Linked DNA regions of Homo sapiens: region 1 is linked to region 2. The links are contacts of gene promoters, found by promoter capture Hi-C in human tissues and cell types (Jung and others, 2019). All regions are on one chromosome and are shown on one strand. The core of a region is centred on a gene start or on the middle of the fragment in contact, and the rest is flanking DNA. Distances in the headings are between cores, read along the strand shown.

Region 1 (6,412 bases), core at 817-3,316, 240 kb after region 2:
TGCCCATCAAGGAGTCCCTGACATGCTGTTCTCCATCCTGTTTCCTGTGGAGTCAAAGTGTATTTACAAATCTGCAGATGCACTAGGCGGGCAGGGCTGGAAAACACTGGCTGTATCAACAGGCAGCACTAGCATTCTGGGTCAGACTTGGCCAAAGCCCGTGACCAATTTTCTTCCTTATCTGTAAAGTAGGTGTAACCATCATAACCTTACCAAGACCACTGAACTATCTTGAGAAGAAAAATGAGATACGTTTAGTAACATGCTATGTAGTTGATAGGTATTAGGATAATACCACAACAATCTGGAACTCACATTTACATAATTTCACTTATCCAGTTGGGACCTAGATGGCAAATCAAGAGAAAGGTCATAAGTCCATGAGCTACAGTTTATGAATTTTGATCATTGGAGGAAATTTTATACCCTCTTTCAGGCCTCTGCATTTACTTCAAGTTTTAAGAGGCTTGGTTATTAGTTTGTCAAATGCACCTAGCAAATTGGAAGCAACTGATACTGTACTGTGCAAGGATTATTAAAGCTCTTTTATCAAGTATCAGTAAGAAGTAAGAGTAAAAAACAGAAAAACTAAAAAAAAATTTAAAAGGCACAAGAATTCAAGGCATGGAATTCTAAAGCTGATATGAGCATTTAATGTAAGCAATTCAGTGAAATTTTATGTATTTTGATGGATCTTTGGTACTCTGTTTTATAACATAGTAACTGATGCTCACAATGACCCACATGTATCCATAGAAGTTAAAATTATATTTTGTTCATCCAATTTAAAAAGACAGAGTTCTGAAGTATCCCCAAAAGATTTTTTTTTTTTGCATGATTCTTAGAGAAAAAACTGCAACTATCCATGATAATGGCACCTGTGAGGTTTCTGGATAGCCGGTGGCTTACTGGTCAAAATTATATTACAACTATAAAGCCCTGCTGTTGAAATTGAGAACTTTATGATCTTTTGTCAAAATTTATCAGGGAACTACTATGCTACTGTTATTATTAGTGGTTATGTTCTAACATTTAATACTAAAGAAAATATTCATGAACCTCAACCTGTCTTGTTATGATCAGGAAACACACTTAGAGTTGTTCCAACTTGATGACTTTAATTCTGGAGTTGGAAGAGACCTGGTGATGGAAAAGATGGAGCAGGAGAGGTAGACCCTACTGCTATCTGTTTCTTACATCTGTGTAGCAAATGTAGACTTACCACTACCCGGATGTTGTTCAAGCTGTCATGGCCACACCCTTATGGTAAGCAATGGTGTTTTTTCAGTTCAGACATCGTGCTGAAAACTGGAAGGTGGCTGAGATACACGAGCAGTGCCAAACTTGGCCTGACCCTCTGACAATGTGTTCAGTTAAAATTTGCTCCAAAACAAAGGCAAGAGGAAAAACAAAAGTAGAGGAAAATAAATGTAGACCCTTTTAAAATAGTATTTTAAAAATTCAATACATATGTGGAAAACGTGAGGACCTAACTAAAAGTCATGGAAGAGTATTTCTCAGTTTCTAGATGTACATACATTCATTGTTTTGGTAACTTACTTGAAAAAATTCTTTAACTAAAAGAAACTGTCAGTAACAGGTTATTGAATATAATCACAAATACTCAGAACTCTCCAAAGGTTCCCTGTATCTAATTGTAATATGATGGAGAAAAGGTATTCCCTGAAGTCCCAGAGGGCTTGGAAGGCAGAGGAGGTGAGGCATGGTGGTGGGAAGTGACTGAACCACACTATCCAGAGGACTGCCCTGTTGGGAGGTTTCACAGTTGGAAATATGTGCTTGGGAGGCAGGACAACAATGGAAGTGGTGAGTACATGACTGATGGGTCTCCCCTCCTCATTACTAAGTGTTTTTGAAATGCCAGGTGCAGCTGGAATTCTTGTGGATAAAGGGGGAAGCTTTATATCTAAATATGAAGTAGGGGTGATCTGAAAATGCCTTTCAGATTTGGGGAGCAAAGCCAGGGAGAAGTATAGGGAAGCTAGTCTCAGAAATCTTGAGATCTCTGAGCATCGGTGGACCCTTGAATTGGGGTTTAGGATCAACTTTTTAAACATGTGTTATGTATGAATAACTGAGATCCAAAGAAAAGCTAATAAACAAATAGTAGAAAGATATGGAAAAAATAAAAGCAGTGTTATAAACACACGATATGCTCCTCCGAATCTCAGTCACCAATTTTAGTCTATTGAGTCTTTCATTGGACTTCCAGGCTTAGCATTAGATGTTGAAACTATCTTAAGATCAGAGGAGCTGGATACAGTGGCTCATGCCTGTAATGCCAGCTGCTCAGGAGGCTGACACAGGAGGATCACTTGAGCCCAGGAGTTTGAGATCAGCCTGGGCGACATAGCAAGACCCTGTCTTAAAAAAAATAAAAATAAAATTATGGACATGGTGGCTCACACCTGTAATTCTAACTACTCAGGAGACAGAGGCGGGAGGATCTCTTGAGTCCAGGAGTTTGAGCCTGCCATGGGCTATGATCACATCACTGTACTCCAGCCTGGACAATAGAGCAAATATGTCTCTTAAAAACAAAAAGATCAGAGATGCCCTGATAAACATGAATTGATTGGATTTAAATAGAAGAAGAATTTTGAAATCCTCCTCCATCAAAATTCTACACAGTAGACGCTTGACATTTTCAGTGGATACATCTCAAGCCCTTGGCAAATCCCCAAGTTTGCAAATGCAGAAATATTTGCATAGGCTCTTGACTTCCTCCTGAATCAGGTTCCATTCCAGAGTGAAGAGGTTCCTATGACTATTCACAGGCTACCAATTATTTGCCTTTTCAATTTGCACTCAAGGAAATTAAGTTTCTTTCACCTCCAGAGAGTTTCTGTTTCCCTGGTGGCATCTTGGGATGGGGTTACTGGGTCTTTGAGAAGACTCCCTCTCTAGCTAAGTGACTTGTTCTTTGCTGTGGCTTTGCAACATACAGTTCACATTTGTGCTCCAGAGAAAAGACAAATTGCCATGTGGTGTGGCTATTAGGGGTTGTTCACAAATAACTGAAAAAGTGTTGAATCTACAAGCATCTGCTGGGTTTGCTAAAAAATTGCACATGTGTGCAGCCCCTCAAACTCCCCCCAATTCCCTGGCCCTCAGTATACACTTAATACAGTGTTAGAAACTTCCCCTGACTGTCAGCAAATCTTGATGAGGGGAATTGGGCATAGCACAGCTGAAGCGTCTGGTAAAGAACTTAAAATGAGAGCATCACCATTGAAATCTTAGCAAGAGAAGCAGAATGTAGTCATTTGCTCCATGCCCTCATTTTGAAGATTTCAAAGTTTGAGAAAAAAACCCACTATGATTATGATTGTATCAAATAAATGAGCCAGAGCATAATGTGCCCTGGAGGTTGGGCCTTGCTGTACCTCACTGGAAAGATTCTCACAAGAATGTTTTGGAGTGGTCTGGGGAGAAGCTCTTAGAATTTTAAGTGGGTTTAAGAGCACACCAATTACAATTGAGGAGAGCATCTTTGCCCAGCAACTAGAAAAGATATGGCAGGAACTGCAGCAATTTGATATGAGAGTTTCTTATTAAATTTGTGTTGTGACCATCTTTTGAAATAACTTTAATGAAATAGCCCCTAGATGCAAACGAATGCTTACAAACTGTGTAGAAAGGTCTAAAGAATAACATTATGACTAACACTTATGTACTCACCAGTCAATTTGAGAAAAAGAATGTTACTTGAACCTTTGACATCCCCTGTGTACCTCCCTCCACCCTATCCCATTCCTTCTCTTCTCAGGGATTACCATCTTCTGGACATTTCTGTACCTTTTATTCCCCTATGCTTTTCTTTATTGTCTTATCCTCTTGCATTTGTATCCCTAAACAATATATTGTCTAGTTATGCGTGTTTGTGAACTTCATATAAATGGAATCACACTGTTTTATTCTTTTGTTCTTAATGCTCACGTTTAGTCCATGCACACCACACCAGTAAGGCTCACTGGTTGACAAACAATGGGAATATTTCCATATCAGTTGGTAAATTGCTGCTTACCTGGGTCTTTCCCAGGTGCTCCTATGGTACTTCTCCAAGTCCACTCCTTTCTAAAGGGATTACACCTGGCATGGCAGGGGGTCTTGGGTACCAGCTCTGGCACTAGGGCTGGGACTTCATTTGATTGGACTCTGTACCAACTGGTTGTTAAATGTTTCGTCCTGGATTCATTCACATTGTTGGGTGTAGCTGAAATTTTTTCATTTTGCTGAACCATAATATTCCATTGAATGAATATATGGCAGTTTATATGTCTATTCTATTATTAATGAACACTTAGCTTATTTCCAGTATTTTGCTATTATAAATAGTGCTGCTGTAAACATTTTTTTTCAAGTTCCCTGCTAAGTATGTGTGTAAGTTTACTTAGGGAATACACATAGTAATAAAATTACTGGCCACAGACTATGGGCATTTTCAGTGCTGCTAGGATAGTTCAGAATTCTATGGTGTCATATGAGTTTCACTTTAATCAAAAATTAATTTCCAATGTGTTTAACCAATTTCTATATCCAGCTGCAATTTCTCCTACTGCTCTCTAATCTTGCAAAAACTTTATATTTTGTAGGATATTGTCAAAAACTTTTGCCCATCTTGTGGATGTGTAACAGTATCTAATCTGCTTTCAATTTATATACATTTGATTACTAAAGAGGGTCAGTATCTTTTCATACGCTGTTGACCTTTTGGATTTTCTTTTTTTGTGAAGTACCTCTTTAAGCCTTTTGCCCATTTATTTGAAAATTGGGTAGTTTACATCTCTCTTATTTATTTGTAGGAGTTCTTTATATATGCAGGAGACTATTTCTCTGTGTTGCCAAAATACCTTCTCCTTATTTGTGTTATTTTTTCTCACCATCTTTTTTAGTATCTTTACAGTGGCAGAAATTCTTAATTTCAATGTAATAAAATTTATCAATCTTTCCTTTATCATTGAACATTTTGTGTCTTTTAAAGGACATCCTTAAGGACAGTTCTTGTATGGTCTTCTAAACGTTTAAGCTTTGCCTTTCATGTTCAACGTTTTCCCTTGAGAATGAGAGTTTTTATGGATTTGATATTCCTTATTAGGATAAGGAACTACTCCTGTTCTGTAGTTTGCAAAGAGCTTTTTTTCTTTCAAATTATATACATGGATGTTTATTAAATACTTCCTCTGCATTTATTGAGATTTATATAATTTTTTTCTTTAATTTGTTAATATCTGGTAAACTAATTTTCCAATGTTAACTTAACCTTGCTTTCCTAGAATAAACCTGACTTGGTTGTAATGGGTTCATTTCTTATACATTGCTAGGTTTTTTTGCTAATAAAATTTAGAAGTTTTATATCTATCTTCATGAGTGTGTTGTACTGTAATTTGCACTTCTTATCTTATCCTTGGCAGGGTTTTGTATCATGGTTTTGCTGAATTTGTAAAGTAAGTTATAGAATATTTCCTCTTTATCTGTTCTCAAAAAAAGATTCTGTGAGGCTGGAGTTCTTTCTTTCCTGAAGATTTTTAACCTCTGATTCAATTTCTTCAATAGATCATGGGTATTCAGGTTTTAATTTTTTTCTTAAATCAATATTGGTAAATTAGATTTTTCTAGAAATTTATCCATATTATCTGAGTTTTCAAAATTTTTACCTTGAAGCTACTTATAAGATGCTGTTATTTTTTAATGTTCTGTGGGATCTGTGGTTATGTCCACTTTTCATTTGTAATACCTTCTATAATTTTGTTAAATGGTCTTTTAAGAATTTTCTCAATGTTATTAGAGACTATCTCTAATCCTTGACTTTGTGATCCTCTCCATCTTTTGTTTTCTAGTTTATGAATGTCTATACTAATTTTTATTATTTTCTTCCATCTAACTTATTTACATTTGAGCTATTTTTCTTTCTTAGCTTTTTAAGGTAAGTGTTTGGCTTTTTAATTTTCAGGCTTTTTTCCCCATTATGAGCATTGTAAGCTATACAATATTTACTCTAACTTCATAAATTTTGATATGTAATATTTGTATATAATTTGGTTCTGAGTACTTTATAATTTTCACTATGATTTATTCTTTGACTTATGACTTAAAGCTGTGTTTCTTTTTAATCCTCTGAATGTTTGTTTATTTTTCTTATTATCTTTTTGTTACTAATTTCTAACTTAATTGCCTCATGGTTGTCAAATATTGTTTGAGTGCTACCCAGCCTTTTAAATTTATTGAAGCTTACTGTAAGGCTTGGTATGTGGTCACTTTTCATAATGTTCTGTGGATCCTACCATTGTTAGATGCAGTGTTCTATGTAACTCTATCAGATCAAGCTTCTTCACTGTGTTGTCCAAGTCTTTTATATCATTACTGATGTTTGTATGCTTGTTCAATCAGT
Region 2 (6,507 bases), core at 1,883-4,382:
GCCAATACTTCTGGCTAACTTTCAATTTTTTCATAGAGATGGGATCTCCCTACGTTGCCCGGGTTTGTCTCAAACTCATGGCCTCAAGCAATCCTCCCATCATGGCCTCCTAAAGTACTGGAATTACAGGTGTGAGCCACTGTGCCTGGCGTTTGTTGGCTATTAATTATTATTAATATTCCTCAGGCTGCCAGGATGGAGAGAGGGTGGGAAGGCCTCCCAGCTGGAGCTGGCCAGATGGTCCCTGTGGGGCTGGGAAAAGTGGGAGCTTGGGAATGAGGATGAAGGCCAAGGGCCGATCTTCTCACGCAGACCCCAGGCAGAGTCGGCCCTGATTACAGCTTGGGAGGACATGCTGCTTGAATCTTCCCTCCACTCTCTCCTTCTGTCTCACCTCCTCCCTGCCCCAACCCCACTCCTGCGTCAGGAGCACAGTTGCTCTTGCTCCGAAGCTGGGGAGGCCTTGAGTTCAGCCTGGGGGTCGCCAGGTCTGGCTGGCTCTGGGGCTTCTGAGCTCTGTGATCCTGGATGCCTCATTCCTGCTCCGAGCCTCAGCTCCCTCATATTCGGGATGGGGTTCAATCAACTCCCCGGGCCTTGAAAACTTCAGGAAAATTCCTGCCTGGTATTTTTAGTCCCGTCTTTCTCCTCAATCCACACTTCTTCTCCAGAAGCTCCTCCCATGGCTCCTGGGGATGAACAAAGGACACGTGGACTCGTGTGTTGTAGAATCTTTATTCAGGAGCTGGGCTGCCTCAGGGGCCTCCCCCTCCAACTCTATGTCCGATTGCTTTGTACCAGATCCAGCTGCTCAGGCCCTGGAAGGGTGGTGATGACCATGGTGGCCAGGGACCCATCTTGAGCATGGACGGGGATGGAAGCCTGCCAGGGTGGTGGGCTGAAGGGCGAGGTGTCCCTGGTGGGCTCAGGGTACCCAGGGCTATCTCAGAGGCAGCCGGTACACGCAACGTTCACACACAGCTCACAGTCGTCGTTAGCGATGGTCCCTGGGCAGGGAGAGAACTGGTCAGTTGACCTGAACCTGGGCCCTCTGTGGCCAGGCAGCAGAAGAGGTCTGCTTGGGAATGGGCGGCATCTTCCACAGACTGGGAGCAGGAACGTCTAGAGGTGGAGTGAGGGCTTGGGTTCAAGTCCCAGATGCTCTCCTTCCTAGCGGCCACTGGGCAAGTCACTCACACTCCCTGTGCCTGAGATTTCTTGTTTGCTAAATGGACAGGGTCACTGTGAGGAGATAATGCAGGACCGACAAGTCCCGGCACACAGTAGGTGCTCAGTAAGTGCTAGCTAGTTGCTACATTCTCGTGCCTGGCTCTGCACGATCCCTCAGGTTTCAGCTTGGCTGACACCTCCTCTTGGAAGCCTTTCACACCCCTGTCCCATCGCAGATGTCAGCCAGCTCTCCTCTCTGCTCCACGCAGCCATTGTCTGTTGATGGGTCTGTGCCTGGCGTGGACTAAGGGGACGAAGCAGGTTCCAGGCATGCCTGACTCACAGTGCCCAAACCGGGGAGTCCTGGGAGCCAGTGGGACAGGGCCTGAGTTACTTGAATCTCCCCATCCTCAGCCGCTGGGTGCTTAAGAGAAACAACCCAGGTGGAGGAGCCTGGGCGTGGGAGGAGACAGAGCGAGGTTCTGCAGGGAGCGGGGGCACTTACTCAGGGTCTTGAAGATGCTGGAAGCCTCCTGCGAGGCGCAGACAGGCTGAAGGTCCTGAGGCAGAGCAGGGTGGTGGCACACGGCGGGCAGGAGGCTCTGGGCCTGCAGGCGGGGGCTGGGTGCCCACTGTGCCTCCAGGTCACTCAGCTTCTTCATGGATTCCAGCTGGACCCGGAAGCCTTGGTACTACAGACAGGGGAGAGGAGATAGGAGCAGGTCAAGACCTGGTCCAGGGGCAGGCACTGCCATGACACCCAGGGTTGCTCAAACCCTGCAGATCCTCCAGAGCCTTCCCCGTCTCTATGGGAAGTCCAGGGCCACACTGGAAAGAGCCGCTGCGGTGAGAGGTGTGAGGAAGAAGCAGCGGGGCTGTGGAGCACAGTGGTTCGAGGCTTTAGAGACAGACAAGCCCTGGTTCAAATCCCACCTCTGCCCATGACCGGCTGCCTGTCTGTTCCCCACTCAGCCTCAGTTCCCTCATCTGACATCTCCCGTGGGGGCCTGGTACCAGGGCACAATCACTAACTGAGTACGCCTGCCTGAGCTCACATGGCAGAGTGATGGCAGCCCCAAGTAGCTGGTCTCTGAGGCCAGGGCTGTTGGGGAGGCCAAGTCTCCTGCACCCCTCTCTGGGACCCACTTTGTTCTTCCCAAGGAGACCATGCCCAGAGTCAGGGATGTGACACCCAGGGCCACAGACGTCTCTGCTATGCTGGGCGAGGCCAGCAGCATCCCCTGTGACGTGGCAGACAGGCCCTGCTGTGACGACTACTGCCACTCTCCCATGCCCCCTGGAAGGGCACTGGAACCCCCATAGTCTTCTATCTGGTCTTTGCACATGCTGTGCCCCTTGGCCTGGAACAGTTTCCCCATCATCTGTGTCTGGCAACCTCCTGTTCATCTTGCAATGCCAGCTCAAGGGTTACTTCTCAGGAAAATTTTTCTGGAGCCTGTCCTCCTCCACCTACATGTGGGTGAATATACGGAACTGTGGGAGCATAACAGGGTGTCTCCTTCCCTTTCTGGCCTCCTCCCATGCAAGGAGGAGCCTTCTGTTCCACACCCTGACCTCTGTGACCAGCACGGGCCTTTGAGGGGAGCAGCGCTGAATCAGTTTGGTGTTGTCATTGCCATCATCACTGCCATCAACATCTGGCTGCCCCCACCCACCAGCTGCCTTGGTCTCTGGGCTGTGATGGGTGTTGGGCTGAGCCCCGGGCCCCGTGCTCCCCCGGTGCCCCTCTGAATTCCCAGTACACCCTCTCCAGCCTAGCCTCCCACCATGGGGCCCTTCAGGCAAAGGGAACGCTGGCCAAGGGACTCACCTGGATGTAGACTGACTGTGTGCTCTGCAGCAGCAGCAGGAGGACCACGGCCACTCCTGGCAGGAGCCCTGATGCAGCCCTGCAGCCCATCGCGCTCCCTGGGTTCCCCCTGCCGCTGTCCACCGTCTCCCATCTGTGTCCCTGCCTAGCACCTCCTTATAGGTCAGGCTCAGGAGTCCTGGTCACTCATTAACTGGCCAGCTGGGGTGGGGTTGACAGCTAGCTGGCTCTCTGACAAGCCGGGGCTGGTTCCTAGGAAGGGGGTTGGGGGCGAGGAGGGCAGGAGCCCAGAGTCTATGGGAACACAGTGCTTGAACACCGAGTGCCTGCCATGTGCCGGGCTCTCCATGGGGGCCTTGGAGCACACCATCATTCACTCCTCAAGACACCTGTGTGGGTGTGATGACGGGGAGGCCATTTTACAGACAGGAAAAGTGAGGCTCAGGAGGGAGGGTGGCTTTCCCCAGGTCACGGAGCTAGTTAATGTCAGAGAAGGGGCTCCAGCCAGGTGTCCTTGGCCCAGGTCAGCCCATGGTCCTTTCTCTGGGGGAAGGATACAGACAGAGAGGCTGGTCCAGGGCAAAGTGGGCAGACACTGCTGATTTCAGGGTTCTCAAGACCCCACTCCCCCAAGACCCACATCTCTCTCACTCCCTCTCCTCAGTGCTATTTAACGACTATCTTTCAGACCAGTCCTGGCCCCACGTTTTGAACCTGCCTCTGCTTGCCATCTCCCACCTGTGCCTGGGTGCTTCAGGCCATGTTTGACCCATCTCACCTGTCTGTGCTTTCAGAAGCCAATAGCCTAATCCAGCATGGAGGAAAAGGCAGTAGTGTTGGAGGCAGATTGACCCGCATTCAAATCCTAGTCCTGCTGCAGCTGTGTGATTTAGGATACGTCACATCAATTCTAATGGAATCTTAGTTTTCTCTTCCATCAAATGGGCATGATACAACCCCTCTCGTAAGGTTGCTGTGAGGGCCCCGGCCCACCTGAGGTTGCCCTTATCTCCTGGGTAATGCATCCATAGCAGCCCCTGAATCTTACAGTTGCCTTCTAGGCAATGCATAACCTACTGCCCCAGTGGTTGAAGGTTGGGTCAGAGAGAAGAGGGCAAAGTCTCTAAGGGTGATATCACCACTGCCATACCAGGCAGCTGTAAACAGTGCGTGTGCCAGGGCTCAGCTCTGCCAGGCACAGACTCTGGCATGTGGCAGGCTCCCCTGACATTGAGCCTGAACGTTGGATTGAAGCCCTGATAGCTCACCTTGGCATTTAAGATGCCACTCCCAAAAGTGGCTAAAATCTGATGTCATCGTGCTTCCCCATACCAACCCTATTTGCACAGGTCTAATCCCATCTCATGTCTTTGCCTACTCATTCCACCTGCCTGAAATGCCATCTTCCTTTTTCTTATCTCAGACTGAAATGAAGAAGAAGCTCAAGTGAACTTTGGAATTTCTTATGTATTGCTTTGAATCCAGACTTCAGCCTTTGCTCTTTAGAGTCTATGGAAATGAAGGGAATCTTACATGCCCTCTAATCTGTAAAATGAAAACAACCATCTGGGAATAATAGCTCTCATTTCTTGAATACTGTGCACAAAGCTATGTTATAGTCGTAATCCCATTGAATCCTAAAGGATAGGCATAATGGTTATTCCCATTTTACAGATGAGTAACCTGAGGCCCAATGAAGCACCATGTTTGTTGTCACTGTGGGAGCAAGAGGGGTAAGCAGATTTTCTACCTGGAATTCTTGCCTTTGCTCAGCCTGTGGTGTTATAGAAAAAGGAACTGAGGACTTAGAGATGAGGAGAGCTGGGTTCAAACCCGAATGACAGCACTTACCAGCTGTGTGATCTTTGGTACATTACTTAGCTTCTCTGAGCCTCCGCTTCTTCATCAGTAAAGTAGAGAAAATAGTAATAATAATTTTTAAAAAGACCTCATAGTGGTTGTTGTAAGGAAAAACTGAACGATACCTGTCCCAGGAGAGCCTGTGACTCTCCCTAAAACCAACCATTTCCCCAGCATGTGCCTGGCTTATGGGGGATGCGTCATGAAGGGGGGTTTCCCTGCCTCTCCTTATGTAACTCCCATGACAAGCCCCATCTCTCAATCTATAGCAGGACCAGTGCTGCTTTCTGACATGCACAGGCTGAACTCAATGCTGGGCTGGAATGTCCATACTTGGGTCTGATCAACTGTAGGACCTTGGACAAGCGACGACCTCTGTGATCTCAGTTTCTCATTTGTAAAAATAATGTGACGTCTCCAGTGTTTGAGGTTGTTATGAGGCTGCTTGATACCTAAATCTATGGTCTTTCCACGAGAGGAAGCTCATCTCCCTTGACCCCCACATCAATGGGACATAGCGGTAGGGTCTGGGGGCCCCTTGGCCATGGTGTCTGTCCTTTCCTCGCCCTGTGGCTCCTCCAGCCAGGGCCCGTCATGTGTCAGTCTTCCCTGGGAACCAGGTATGACTTCCCTATCTGCCTAACATGACTCAAGTTTATTTGTCAAACCCACCTCCTCCTAATCTCTTTCTAAATGACCCACCATCCATCACAACCAACTTGGCCACAGACGCAAATCCTTGACGCTACCCCTGGCCAGCCCATGTGCATTGACGTGGTATTATCAGGGCACTTCCTTCTTTAGGGATGTGGGAAGTGACTGTCACAAGAGCCTGGAGTTCACCCTGTGTGGAAGCCTCAATCACAGATGTGGGGTGGGTGACAGTTTGCCCATGTGCATTTGGGCAGCTCCGCTCTCTACCCTGGCCTCGCTGCTCAGTGCCCACTGCTATGGTGCCCAGAGCCCAGGGCTCTCCCTGCCCCAAACTGCTCAGTTCCCCACAGCATTTGTCATAGCTGACCACTCCATCTTTCTTGGAGTAAAGTGCTTTCACCATTTGACTCCTGGGACTCTCCACATTTTCTGCCAATCTCTCTGGCTCCATATTCTCAGCTTCCTTCCTTGGTTTTTCCTTCTCTTCCTGACCTCTAGGTGTTAGAGTGCCCAGGGGGCACCAAGGCTGTCTTTGGACGTCTTTCTTCCTGTCTGTAATCACCCCCTTGGCGATTTATCCCATCACAAGGGCTTTAATACCATCAACACTCTGTTTACTCCATAGCCTGGCCTTTCTTCTCAATCCCAAACTCATTTATCTACCGGCCTCCTCAGTTCCTCTCATACCGGTTGATAGTACTACCATTCACCCAGTTGTCAAGTCAAAAATCTGGGAGTCATCCTTGATGTCTCTTTTTTATTTGCCAAATTAAATTCACTAGCAAATCCAGTTGGCTCTACCTTCAAGATATTTCTGGATTCCACCCGTTTCTCATCATCTCCACTGCTATGATCAAGGTTCAAGCTATCATCACAGGTTGAATGGATTATTGCAATAGCCTTATATTAGGCAGGGTTCTCCAGATAAGCAGAACATACACACACACACACCCACACACAGATACAGAACACACACACACACATACATCCTA

Evidence for each region. The method cuts DNA at HindIII sites, captures the fragments that hold promoters and counts their contacts. A contact is called where the count stands out against the background at its distance.
Region 1: a fragment that was not itself captured here is called in contact with the fragment with the promoter of GUCA2B in region 2 in 1 of the 25 tissues and cell types used here (bladder).

What each region holds. Positions count from the first base shown.
Region 1 is chr1:41,909,557-41,915,968 of GRCh38, reverse strand. The region is part of intron 1 of HIVEP3 (HIVEP zinc finger 3); the gene reads left to right. Among named protein-coding and RNA genes, the nearest start is that of HIVEP3, 6.2 kb to the left of the region's middle. The HindIII fragment of the contact is 8,466 bases long and covers 1-6,299 here.
Region 2 is chr1:42,150,035-42,156,541 of GRCh38, reverse strand. GUCA2B (guanylate cyclase activator 2B) reads right to left here and starts at 3,132. Exons shown (of 3, transcript NM_007102.3): 1 at 3,002-3,132; 2 at 1,676-1,862; 3 at 722-1,007. The coding sequence starts at 3,091. The coding sequence ends at 946. The HindIII fragment of the contact is 15,047 bases long and covers 1-6,507 here.